2 separate regions of the Homo sapiens genome follow, and region 2 is linked to region 1. The links are contacts of gene promoters, found by promoter capture Hi-C in blood cells and fetal thymus (Javierre and others, 2016). All regions are on one chromosome and are shown on one strand. Each heading gives the region's core, a stretch centred on a gene start or on the middle of the fragment in contact. The rest is flanking DNA. Distances are from core to core; before and after follow the strand shown.

Region 1 (5,847 bases), core at 2,213-4,712:
ATTCGTAAACACAATCCCAAGCCCCCAGTCTTAGTGATCCATTTTTTAATGAATTTGAGTAAATGTAGGACTCAGTATAAATCAGTATGGTTCCTGCATTTTCTGATTGTTGAAACCAAGGCAGCCCTTAAAGTTTCCAGCAGACTGTGCTTTATTTTTCCTCATCACAGGTATTTAATTACAAACTTAAAGCAATTGCCTGAGAAAAATATTTCTTCCATGAACTCTTGTTTGTGATGCAGACTATTTACAACCATATATTTACTTTCACCACTATGTGCTTTTTTAATCTGTGTGCTGTGTTCTCATTGGCAGTTATCCTAAGGCTCTTATGGCTTAGTGAAACTAAAGGTAATAATTGTAGTAACTAATATAAAATATATGGTTTGGCCAGGCACAGTGGCTCACACCTGTAGTCTTAGAGCTTTAGAGGACCAAGAGAGGAGAATTGCTTGAGGCCAGGAGTTGGAGACCAGCCTGGGCAACACAGAGAGATCCCATCTGTAGCCAAAATTTTAAAAAGTAGCCCAGCATGGTAGCATACACCTGTAGTCCCAGCTACTCATGAGGCTGAGGTGAGATGCTTGCTTGAGCTTGGGAGTTCAAGGTTACAGTGAGCCATGATCGTACCACTGCATTCAAACCTAAGCAACAGAATGAGACTCTGTCTTTAAAAAAGAGGAAAAACAGGAAAGTAAAAGAAATACGTGGTTTATATTTGCCTCTTTCATGTTATTAGAAGACTATGAGAGTGAAACGTTAAATCAGTGCTGTCTAGCGTTCTCCTACACAATGGTGTTCCCACCTGCTGTGCACTCAGTGAACAGTGTTCATTCCACACTGCTTTGTAAAGCACACGATCTACAGTTATAGTTATTCAAGTTGGGTGTTTCCTTTCATTTTAAGAGGCAGACATTGGGTAAAAAAGGATATGTAAAACTTTTTAAATCTACTGTTGTTATTTAGAAAAAAATTCTTCTTTGTGATAAATGAAAATAATACATTTCTATTTCCATTGTAATAAATGGGAATAACTCCTTATGCACAATGCTTGGGACTAGAAATGTCTTGAATTTCGAATTTTTTTCCGGTTTTAGAATGTTTGTATATACATAATGAGATATCTTGAGGATGAGATCCAAGTCTAAACATGAAATTTATATATGCTTCATATACATCTTATACACATAGGCTGAAGGTAATTTTATACCATATTTTTAATAATTTTGTGCATGAAACAGTTTTGACTGTATTTTCACTGAGACTAGTCACATGAGAGGAGGTGTGGAATTTTCCACTTGTGGTTCATGTTGGCCCTCAACAAGTTTCAGATTTTGGACTTTGAGTTTTCAGATTGGGAATGCTTAACGTGAATTTTAAAAATCTTAGCTACCTCTCATACTAGTTATTGTAAAGTTAAATGCCTCATTACCAATAATTTGATATAAAAGCTTACAATGCAATTCAGACTTTGTCTTCACACCACGTCCTAATGATTTTAAAGACTCTTACTTCTAAGAAAAAAGAATACAGTTAGTGCCAGTTATAGGAATCAAATGAGACAATACATTTGTGAATGCTATGTTTAAAAAGCAGATTACAAATGTTTTTGTAAAAATACATATATATTTATATACATGTAAATACATATATGCATAGGAAAAGTCTAGAAGGATATTCACTACCACCGTTTGGTTCCAAGTGGTGGAAAATGGTTGTTTTAAATTTTTGCTTATTTGCATTTCTAATTCACTACAATGCCTATATATTGCCTTTATAATTTTTTTAAATGCATCCAAAATTAGCAATAGATCTTTCCTCTATCTTCAAAAATTATATAAATTAAATGTTATTAAATAATAATAAAGTGCTACACAAAGATACGCTAAAACAAAACAATTTAGTTTAGTGGAGACAAAACACACTGGTGGTCAGAAGTCCTGGGTTTTAGGCCCAGTTTTGCCTCTTACTAGCTGGGTTTCCTTGGGTGACTTATTTAACTTTTAGAGCTTCAATTTCCTAGACAACGAAACAAAATACAGCATTTTTCCTATGCTATGCATATACTAAGATATCAAGCTTAAACCTATTTTAATCATACATTGCTAAGAGCTGTGAGTGTGCAGATTTACAAGGCTGCACATGTGAGGCAAAAGAGGAAACTCATGATCAGGACAGAGCCGAGGTAAGTTTGAGTTCCAAGTCACCAATAATTAGTAAACCTTGGGCAAATCACTTAGTGTCTGGCACCTCAGTTTTCTCAATACAAACATGAAAATAAAAATCCTTCCCTAAACACATTTCTCCCCATTTCCGAAAACTTCAGAAGTTAATGAGATCGACCTTTGAAAGAAATGTGTAAGCTGTAAAGCATTATGCAAAAGTTAGTAATTACATAAGGAAGCAATTAAAATAGGGGTAATATGTTTTATAGCTTAAGAAATACATCCCACAGATAAGACTGTCTATACATATTGTATCCAGCAATGATTATTCATGCTTCCTGGAGATATGCCTGTAATTTGAATACTTTGTCATCAGGGATGTAATAGGACAAAGGTTTGATATTATGATCTGAAAATAATAATAATAATAATTAGCTATTTAGCACTTAGTATGGAACATTCAATGGGCCAGTGCTCATGTTGCACCACAGATCAATTAAATCAGAACATCTACGGGTAGAACCCAGGTATCAATCCTTTGTAAATGCCCCGTGTGATTATAATGTATAGCCAATGCTGAGAACCACTGCCTTAGGACCTCAGGTCAAGTAAGAAATTAAGAACAAATTCCAGACTCTTAATGACAATTCACATTTTTTATAGGCACTGAGTATTTGAAAAAAGATTTCTAAATATGCATTATCCTGTGTTATTTTTACAACCACCTTTGGAATCAATATTAATTTCTTCATCTTTCAGACATAGAAATTGATGTGTCAGCCAATGACACAGCTTGTAACTACCCTATCACCCTGACACTGCGTAAATTTCAGATAGGTATTTACATGTTCACATTCAGTGAATATTTAGGAATTATATACATGACAAAGGAAGTTTATTTCTAAAGCAAAATCCATCCCCAACTACAAAATATGAAATATACTACTTATCTACAATGTAGAGATTCTCAAACTTTACTATGCAACACCATCACCAGAAAGATTGTTAATACATAGATTGCTGGGCCCCATATCCAGAGTTTCTGATTAATTAGGTGTGAGCTGAGGCCTGAGAATTTGCATCTCTAAAAAACTCCAGGTAATGTCAGTGCTGCTGGTCCAGGGACTACCCTTTGAGAAACACTGCCCCAGGATGCTTTAGAAAAATGTGCATGGTAAAAGATCCAGACCTTGGCCTGCTTTCCTCCCATCTTCATGATCCCTGAAACACTCACGCTGGTCTTCCTGCAAAGAAGACCAGCAAATAGCAGGACGAGGGGAGGAGGGCGGGGAGGATGCATCAGCAGAGAGCCCAGGATGTTTCACTAGCACCAAAGGCTCAAGACTAGCCGTCCAAGATTAGCCTTTTAATGGGGTTCTTGTCTCCCATGCATCCCTGCAGGCCTCCCACCCAGAGGAGAATGGCTGCAGGAAATCACTCTACAGTGACAGAGTTCATTCTCAAGGGTTTAACGAAGAGAGCAGACCTCCAGCTCCCCCTCTTTCTCCTCTTCCTCGGGATCTACTTGGTCACCATCGTGGGGAACCTGGGCATGATCACTCTAATTTGTCTGAACTCTCAGCTGCACACCCCCATGTACTACTTTCTCAGCAATCTGTCACTCATGGATCTCTGCTACTCCTCCGTCATTACCCCTAAGATGCTGGTGAACTTTGTGTCAGAGAAAAACATCATCTCCTACGCAGGGTGCATGTCACAGCTCTACTTCTTCCTTGTTTTTGTCATTGCTGAGTGTTACATGCTGACAGTGATGGCCTACGACCGCTATGTTGCCATCTGCCACCCTTTGCTTTACAACATCATTATGTCTCATCACACCTGCCTGCTGCTGGTGGCTGTGGTCTACGCCATCGGACTCATTGGCTCCACAATAGAAACTGGCCTCATGTTAAAACTGCCCTATTGTGAGCACCTCATCAGTCACTACTTCTGTGACATCCTCCCTCTCATGAAGCTGTCCTGCTCTAGCACCTATGATGTTGAGATGACAGTCTTCTTTTCGGCTGGATTCAACATCATAGTCACGAGCTTAACAGTTCTTGTTTCTTACACCTTCATTCTCTCCAGCATCCTCGGCATCAGCACCACAGAGGGGAGATCCAAAGCCTTCAGCACCTGCAGCTCCCACCTTGCAGCCGTGGGAATGTTCTATGGATCAACTGCATTCATGTACTTAAAACCCTCCACAATCAGTTCCTTGACCCAGGAGAATGTGGCCTCTGTGTTCTACACCACGGTAATCCCCATGTTGAATCCCCTAATCTACAGCCTGAGGAACAAGGAAGTAAAGGCTGCCGTGCAGAAAACGCTGAGGGGTAAACTGTTTTGATGCAAATGTTATTGTTCCTTTTCAATTTAGTGGTAATTGTTATAAATACCAGAGTGACAGCTTCTGAATGCTGGCCAGCTGTGGATGGAAAATAATCACTTCTCCACATGGCTGGGTGAATGGGCATTTTTCCTTCTTTCCTCTTCCTTCCCTCTTCCTTTCCTCTTCCTTCCTCTTCCTTCCTTCCTCTTCTTTCCTCTTCCTTCCCTCCCTCTTTTTTCACTTCTCTTTGAAGCCAGCCAACTTCAGGTTCAGGTTTTCTTTCACTTGAGATCCATCCCTCTACCCCAAGCCCTTTAATAAATGTTTCCTATCTTAATTGTAATTTAACTTAAATGCTAAACTTTCAACATTGAGTTTTAGGGTCATTCATGGTCTTATTATCTTCTATATAGAAAATATTACTCAGCCCAATTTTTTTCTTTTTTTTTTTCTTTTTGGTGACAGAGTCTCACTCCAGCCCAGGCTGGAGTACAGTGGCACGATCTCGGCTCACTGCAACCTCCGCCTCCCAGGTTCAAGTGATTCTCCTGCCTTAGCCTCCCGAGTAGCTGGGATTATAGGCATCTGCCACCATGCCCAGCTAATTTTTGTATTTTTAGTAGAGACGGGGTTTCACCATGTTTGCCAGGCTGGTCTTGAACTCCTGACCTCAAGTGAGCCACCTGCCTTGGCCTCCCAAAGTGCTGGAATTACAGGTGTGAGGCACTGCGCCTGGCCAATTTTTTTTCTTTTTGTACTTGGGAACAAATGAGGCAAAGAGAGGCAAAGTATCTCTACTTACCCCTGCCCAAGAATTTCCTGATCTCTTTATGTAATTTTCTTAGTAACACTAATAATAATGATAACAGCAGCTAACATGTTTTTGGATGCTGACTCTGATCCATGCAATTCTTCTACGTGCTTTCTATTCTATTTCAATTATACTACACAACAAGTAGGTACTATTCTATTCTCATTTCACAGATATGGAACTTGGAGCAGGAGTAACAACACTGAGATTCAAACCCCAGTCCAAGTGGCTTCCAGAGCCCAGACTCTGGGCACTCACACATTACTTCCTTCACTTTAGTCTAGCCGTCCCTTTGAACAGCCTATTAAACCTCCCATAATTATGCTCATCCAATTTCAAATTGGATGAAAATAATTTCTTCTGAAAATAATTTCTCAAATCCCTTCCTTTTATCATCTGCCCAAACCTCTTTCTCTTTATGGGCAACAACTATAATAGGATGGGAAAAGATGCCTAACTAGCATATATAATAATAAACCCTAGCAAACCAGCAAGAAAAAGACATCAACTTTAGCAAGAAAAAAAATGAGCAAGGTATA
Region 2 (5,847 bases), core at 864-3,363, 530 kb before region 1:
GTATGCTTTTCTTCCATAATTAATATATTTCTTAGCTATTAGGAAAAAGCTTTCATGAAAACAACAAGAAAAACTGGTCTAATGTAGATGCCCAAAGCACTGTTAGTTTTGGAGGACAATTGCAGTTTCATGAGCCTTTTGTGCTAATAGAAATGCTCTCATCTGCATATGGAAAATATAGTCCTATATGGAATGGAATTTGAAGAACTGAAGTCCCCTGAATTAATATTTTTTTCCAATTAAATTACCAAATTACCCATTTTTCTGACATTGGTTATCCATTTAGTATAAGGCATATTTAATCAATGTAAAATCACAATATTATTTTAGTAATTACTTTCAATTTAGCTCCAATTATATTTTGAAATCTCTTTATCAAATATATGCTATCAATTTTTGTTAATTGAAACTTCTATCCAACTTTCTGTACTTATCTTTGTGAATACTATTAACTTGTGCTTTCAGTGTAACTTATCAATTTTCTTGGTATACAGTATACAGTTACATTATCTTTATAAAATGATACTTTTGTCTTTCTTTCCAAAAGTAAACATTTGTTATCTTTCTTTTCTGTCTTGCTGTATTGGTAGAAGACACTATTGTCACCCACCTAGCAATGGTTTAGGAATTACTTAGGTCTGTTGTGAGTGCTACACAACTTGTCTGTGCCTTTTTCCAGGAAGAGGAGTTCAATAGTAACATTTGCTGAGTTTTAATTTCTTTAAGAAAAAGAAAGGAATTATCCATCATTTTTGGCTGTTTCACTAAAACCCAGTGGGATTTTATGTGATAAACACGCCAGAACTTCTAAACATCATCAAGAATTCTGCATTGATAGTTCTTTGCACATGGAAAAAGGCACAGCTGAATCCACCCACACAGTCTGGTGACTTGTTGATACTCTAACAAAGACTAGAGAAGCGTAGAAGTCCAGGCATTCCTGTTTACCAACCGTATTCATCACTGGGCCTCCTCTGCCACTGAGCCATTTCTCTGTTTTTTTCACAATTACTTTTGCTATTCAAAGTCCTTTGCGGCCGGGTGCGGTGGCTCACGCCTGTAATCCCAGCACTTTGGGAGGCTGAGGCAGGCGGATCAGGAGGTCACGAGATCGAGACCATCCTGGTTAACACGGCGAAACCCCGTCTCTACTAAAAATACAAAAAATTAGCCAGGCATGGTAGTGGGCGCCTGTAGTCCCAGCTGCTTGGGAGGCTGAGGCAGGAGAATGGCGTGAACCCGGGAGATGGAGCTTGCAGTGAGCCGAGATCACGCCACTGCACTCCAGCCTGGGTAAGAACGAGACTCTGTCTCAAAAATAAAATAAAATAAAATAAAAAAGTCCTTTGCGTTTCCATATAAATTTTACACAAAAAATTGTTTATTTACACACACAAAAGCCTGCTGTGATTTTGATTGGAATTGCATTCAATCTATCAATAAATTTGGGACAATTGCTATCTTAGTAATACTGGATTATGTTTGATCACAAATACTGTTGATCTCTTTTGTTTCTCTCAACAATGTTGTGTCGTTTCAGTGCTCATATCCAGTATATTTTGTCAGGTTTATCACTAGGAATATTTTATTTTGATGCTATTTTAAATAGTACTTCTAAAATTTCAACTTCCAATTGTTCGTTGTTAATACATAGAGTTGATTGATTATTGCATATAAATCTTATATCTTACAACTCAGCTAAACTCACTTATCAGTTCCTATAGTCTTTTTAGATATTCCATCAGATTTTCTACATAGATGACCATGTCGTGTGCAAACACAGACAGTTTACTTCTCCTTTACAATCTAGATTCCTTTTAGTTCTTTTTCTTAGCTAAATGTCCTGTCTAGAAACTGTAGCTCAATGTTGAATAGAAGTGGTGGCAGTAGACATGCTAGGTTCTTGATCTTAGGGGAAAATATCTAGTTTTTTTTACTACTAAGCATGACGTCAGCTGTGGGGTTTTTTTTGTTGTGTTTGTTTTGTTTTTCTGTTTGACAAATGAGATTGGTTCCTTCTATCCCCTAGTTAGCTGAGATTTTTTTTTACCAGAAATGGCTTTTGCAATTTGTCGAGTGCATTTTCTGCATCTATTGAGACAGTCATATAGTTTTTCTTTTTCAGTTTGTTAATACGGCAAATTATGTTGCTTGAGTACTGAATATTAAACTATACTTACATTCCTGGAATCAACCTGGTTGATTATGATGCAAATCATTTTTTTCATATATATTAAATTCAATTTGGAAAATTTTATTAGGAATTTTAATATACTTGTTTATAAAGAATATAAATTGATAGCTCTTTTCCTATAATGTCTTTGTCTTGTTTTTGTATCAAGATAATACTGAAATCATCGAATGAGTTGGGACGTTTCTTGCCTATTCAATTTTCTGATAGAGTGTGTGTAAATTTTGTATTATTTATATATTTTAACTCAGAACTCTGTTCCTGAAAATCAGCAAAACTGTTGTGCTCTGCTTCAGACCCCTATCCATGCACCATGGCTCAGAATGTGCCTCCAAACAGAGTGCTCACCTCATTTGCTTTTCCTTTCTTGGGGATCACAGTCTTGTGCTACTTGTTGTTCAATGTCTGAAAATACCTGTTTTAATATATATTTTGGGGTCCAGTGTTCTATGTCTATATTGTGAGAGGAGAAATCTAATCCTTGTTATTGTATCACGGGCCAGAATTGAACATCTCCAAATTAACTATTTTTATTTTCATCATTTGCGTTGTGTTGTGAAATATAAAGTAAATAGATAAAACTTCGTACAGACACAGGCCAGATGTATTCTAAAGCAAACATTCATGTCTCCACCACCCAAATTAAAAAAGTAAGTATTGCCAGCAACCTTTGAGCCTTCACATCTCTTCCTGAAGTCAATCTCCTTCCATTCCGCTATCATGAGAATCTCAATTTCGTACTAATTTTGAGGGTATCTTTAAACAATACAGTTAAATTTTGCCTTTTAAAAACTTATGTAAGTGGAATCATAGTTATATTTAATATAGAGTTTCTATACGGTTGGGCAAAAGTAATTACGGTTTTTGCTATTGCATTTAATGGCAAAAATCGCAATCACATTTGCTCTAATGTAATATTTAAAATTATGTTTTGAAGACATGTACATATTGATATGTACAGCAATAAATTTATTCATTTAATTCATATGCATTGTTCCATTGTAAAATACACACTTGGTAGATACTTGGGTTTTCAAATTTTGGTTATAACAAAAATCCCGCCTTAAATACTCTTATACATTACCCTGGGCACATAAGCCTGAGTTTCTACATGGAAATGTTGATATTGTGAGGAAGATATCTTCCAGCTTATTTGAAAGTAATAAACCTTTTTTAAAAAGTAATTCTATAAATTTATATTCCCTTTAGAAATGTGTGAAAGTTCTTGCAATTGACAATTTTGACATTTACTTTAGGCATAATTTTAATGCAATTTTAATTTGCATTTCCCTAACTCTTAAAGTGATAGAGTAGATTTTCTTTTGTTTATTGGCCAATTGTATTTCTTCTTTTATGAAGCCTGGCCAAGTAATTTACCTACATTTATTTATATTGGATTGCTTGATTTTAATATAAATTTTAGAAATTCTTTATATATTTTGAATACCAGTCCTTGATAGTAATATTTGTTATAAGTAACATCTTTTTCACTTTTTATTTTTATTTTTTACTATTTTAATATTATTCTCAATATTAAAGTAACCAAAACGAATGATGTTTCTTTTATTTCTCTTAGTTTCTATACCTGCATCAGAAAGTTTTTCCCCAATTCAATTTGTAAAAGCCGTATTATTTGTTATAAAAATTTGAGTTTATAATGGCCCTGGAATTGATTTTGTGTATAGTATGTGGTAAGAGATTAATCTGATTTGTTCCATGTTGATTCAGTTGTCCAAGCATAATTTATTGGAAAAATACATTTACCATAATCTTCCATGCCAGCTTTGACTTAAATCAAATATGCAAGGGGTGTGTTTTTATGCTGTCTATTCTATTCCATTTTTAAATTAATCTGGTCCTAAACCAACCTCACTTTTTTTAGTTGCTATAAAGAAAAATAATAAATACAAATTTGTAAATATGTTTAGCTTTAAGAATAACCAAAAATGAAGATTAAAGATAGTTGGTTGAAAACTGCTTATGGTAAAAGCTTTAAAACTTTTAAGTAATTAAATAATAACACTGGTAAAGTTGGCTCTTGCAAGCACTGGTGCTAACAAAGTAAACAATTTAATAATAATCTTCAAAACCATAATATTCATTAATTTTATAGGATTTCTACTTAGGTTTACTTATCTTTAGTAAAGTCTCAAATATGGATAACTACATGGGTTAATAAGATTATCATAGTGCATTATACATGCACTTATGTCTACCTATTTTTCTAACAGTACTTTTTTATTTGGGAAAATATTAAAAAACTGTTAAAAAATTAAATATCCATAAAAATGAATATGTTTGAGTAAAGTGGCCATAGGGAATGTAAGTTAACATTATGGAAAACAGTGTGGGGATTTCTCTAAAAACTAAAAATAGAACTTTCATGCAGCCCAACAATTTCACTATTGGGTATTTATACAAAGGAAAGCAAGTCAGTATATCAAAGGTGCAGTACACATGCACCTCCATGGTATATATACACAATGGAATACTATTCAGCCACTAAAAAGAGTGAAATACTGTCATTTGCAGCAACATGGATGAACCTGGAGGATGCTATGTTATGTGAAATAAGTCAGGCACAGATATATGAATACTGCATGTTCTCACTCATATGTGGGAGCTAAATTTTTTTTTTGAGCTCATGAAAGTAAAGAGTAGAACTGTGGGTATTAGAGGCTGGAAAGAATAGATGGGGAAAATGGAAAGAGGTTGGTCAACGAATACACAATTACAGCTGAATAGGAGGAATTAGTTCTGGTGTTCTGGAGCACTGTAAGGTGAACATAGTTACCTATAATTTATTGTATATTTTGAAAAAGCCAGAAGAAAGATTTTTGGATGGTCACAACACAGAGACATGGTAAGTGTGTGGGGGATAGATACACTAAGTACTCTGAATTGATCATTGCACATTGTATACATGTATTGAAGTACCACTCTGTATCTCATAAATATGTACAATTTTTATGTGTCAACTAATAAAAGGAAAACAAAAAAGATGGTTGTAATAATTGAGTAATATGGAAAATATTTTGATAAAATTGTAAACCAAAAATAAACTAAACAAAAAGATGCAAAGCTACATATATAGCATAATTGGAACTAGTTAAAAATATTCCTTATCAGTATAAAAACATTGATAATATTAAAACAGAGAAAGTGTGTGGGTTTTTTTGCCCCTTTGAATATTTACCAAGTAGTTTATAAACTTGTGATGCCACTTTCATAGTGAATATGTCATGTCTTATGAAATAAAGAGGTAGGGAATAGAAAGGGCATGAGAAAAGAGAGGAAAGCCTCTAATTATTCCCTTTGCCCTTTCATGCTTTTAAAGCCTGGGGATTAGGCCACTGGGAATATTGCCTGTAAGGAAACCAGGTCCATTTATACTTTCAAGTTTGAAAACTTATAAATTCAGAATTTCAGGTCCATTCTAATAGCAGGACTGAGTGTGGCATCTATGTGTCTTGTAATCCAGAGGAGAGGGTGCAATATCTTGGCTGTATGCCATGGCATCTTATGTAAAACAGAGTTTTGGCTTTAGGAACACATTCTTCTTGCCTGGAAACTTGAGAAAAATCTTGCTACCCGTATTCAAAGTGCTTCCCATCAGTTGGTATGTGCCTAAAACTTTGCCGCTTCTGTTTAAATAC

The links. The method cuts DNA at HindIII sites, captures the fragments that hold promoters and counts their contacts. A CHiCAGO score of 5 or more calls a contact.
Region 2: a contact is called between a fragment that was not itself captured here and the fragment with the promoter of OR8A1 in region 1, in 1 of 17 cell types (total B cells). The highest score is 7.9, in total B cells.

What each region holds. Positions count from the first base shown.
Region 1 is chr11:124,566,535-124,572,381 of GRCh38, forward strand. OR8A1 (olfactory receptor family 8 subfamily A member 1) reads left to right here and starts at 3,463. Exons shown (of 1, transcript NM_001005194.2): 1 at 3,463-4,840. The coding sequence starts at 3,586. The coding sequence ends at 4,515. The HindIII fragment of the contact is 5,869 bases long and covers 2,078-5,847 here.
Region 2 is chr11:124,041,655-124,047,501 of GRCh38, forward strand. No RefSeq gene overlaps it. Among named protein-coding and RNA genes, the nearest start is that of OR10G7, 3.3 kb to the left of the region's middle. The HindIII fragment of the contact is 4,132 bases long and covers 48-4,179 here.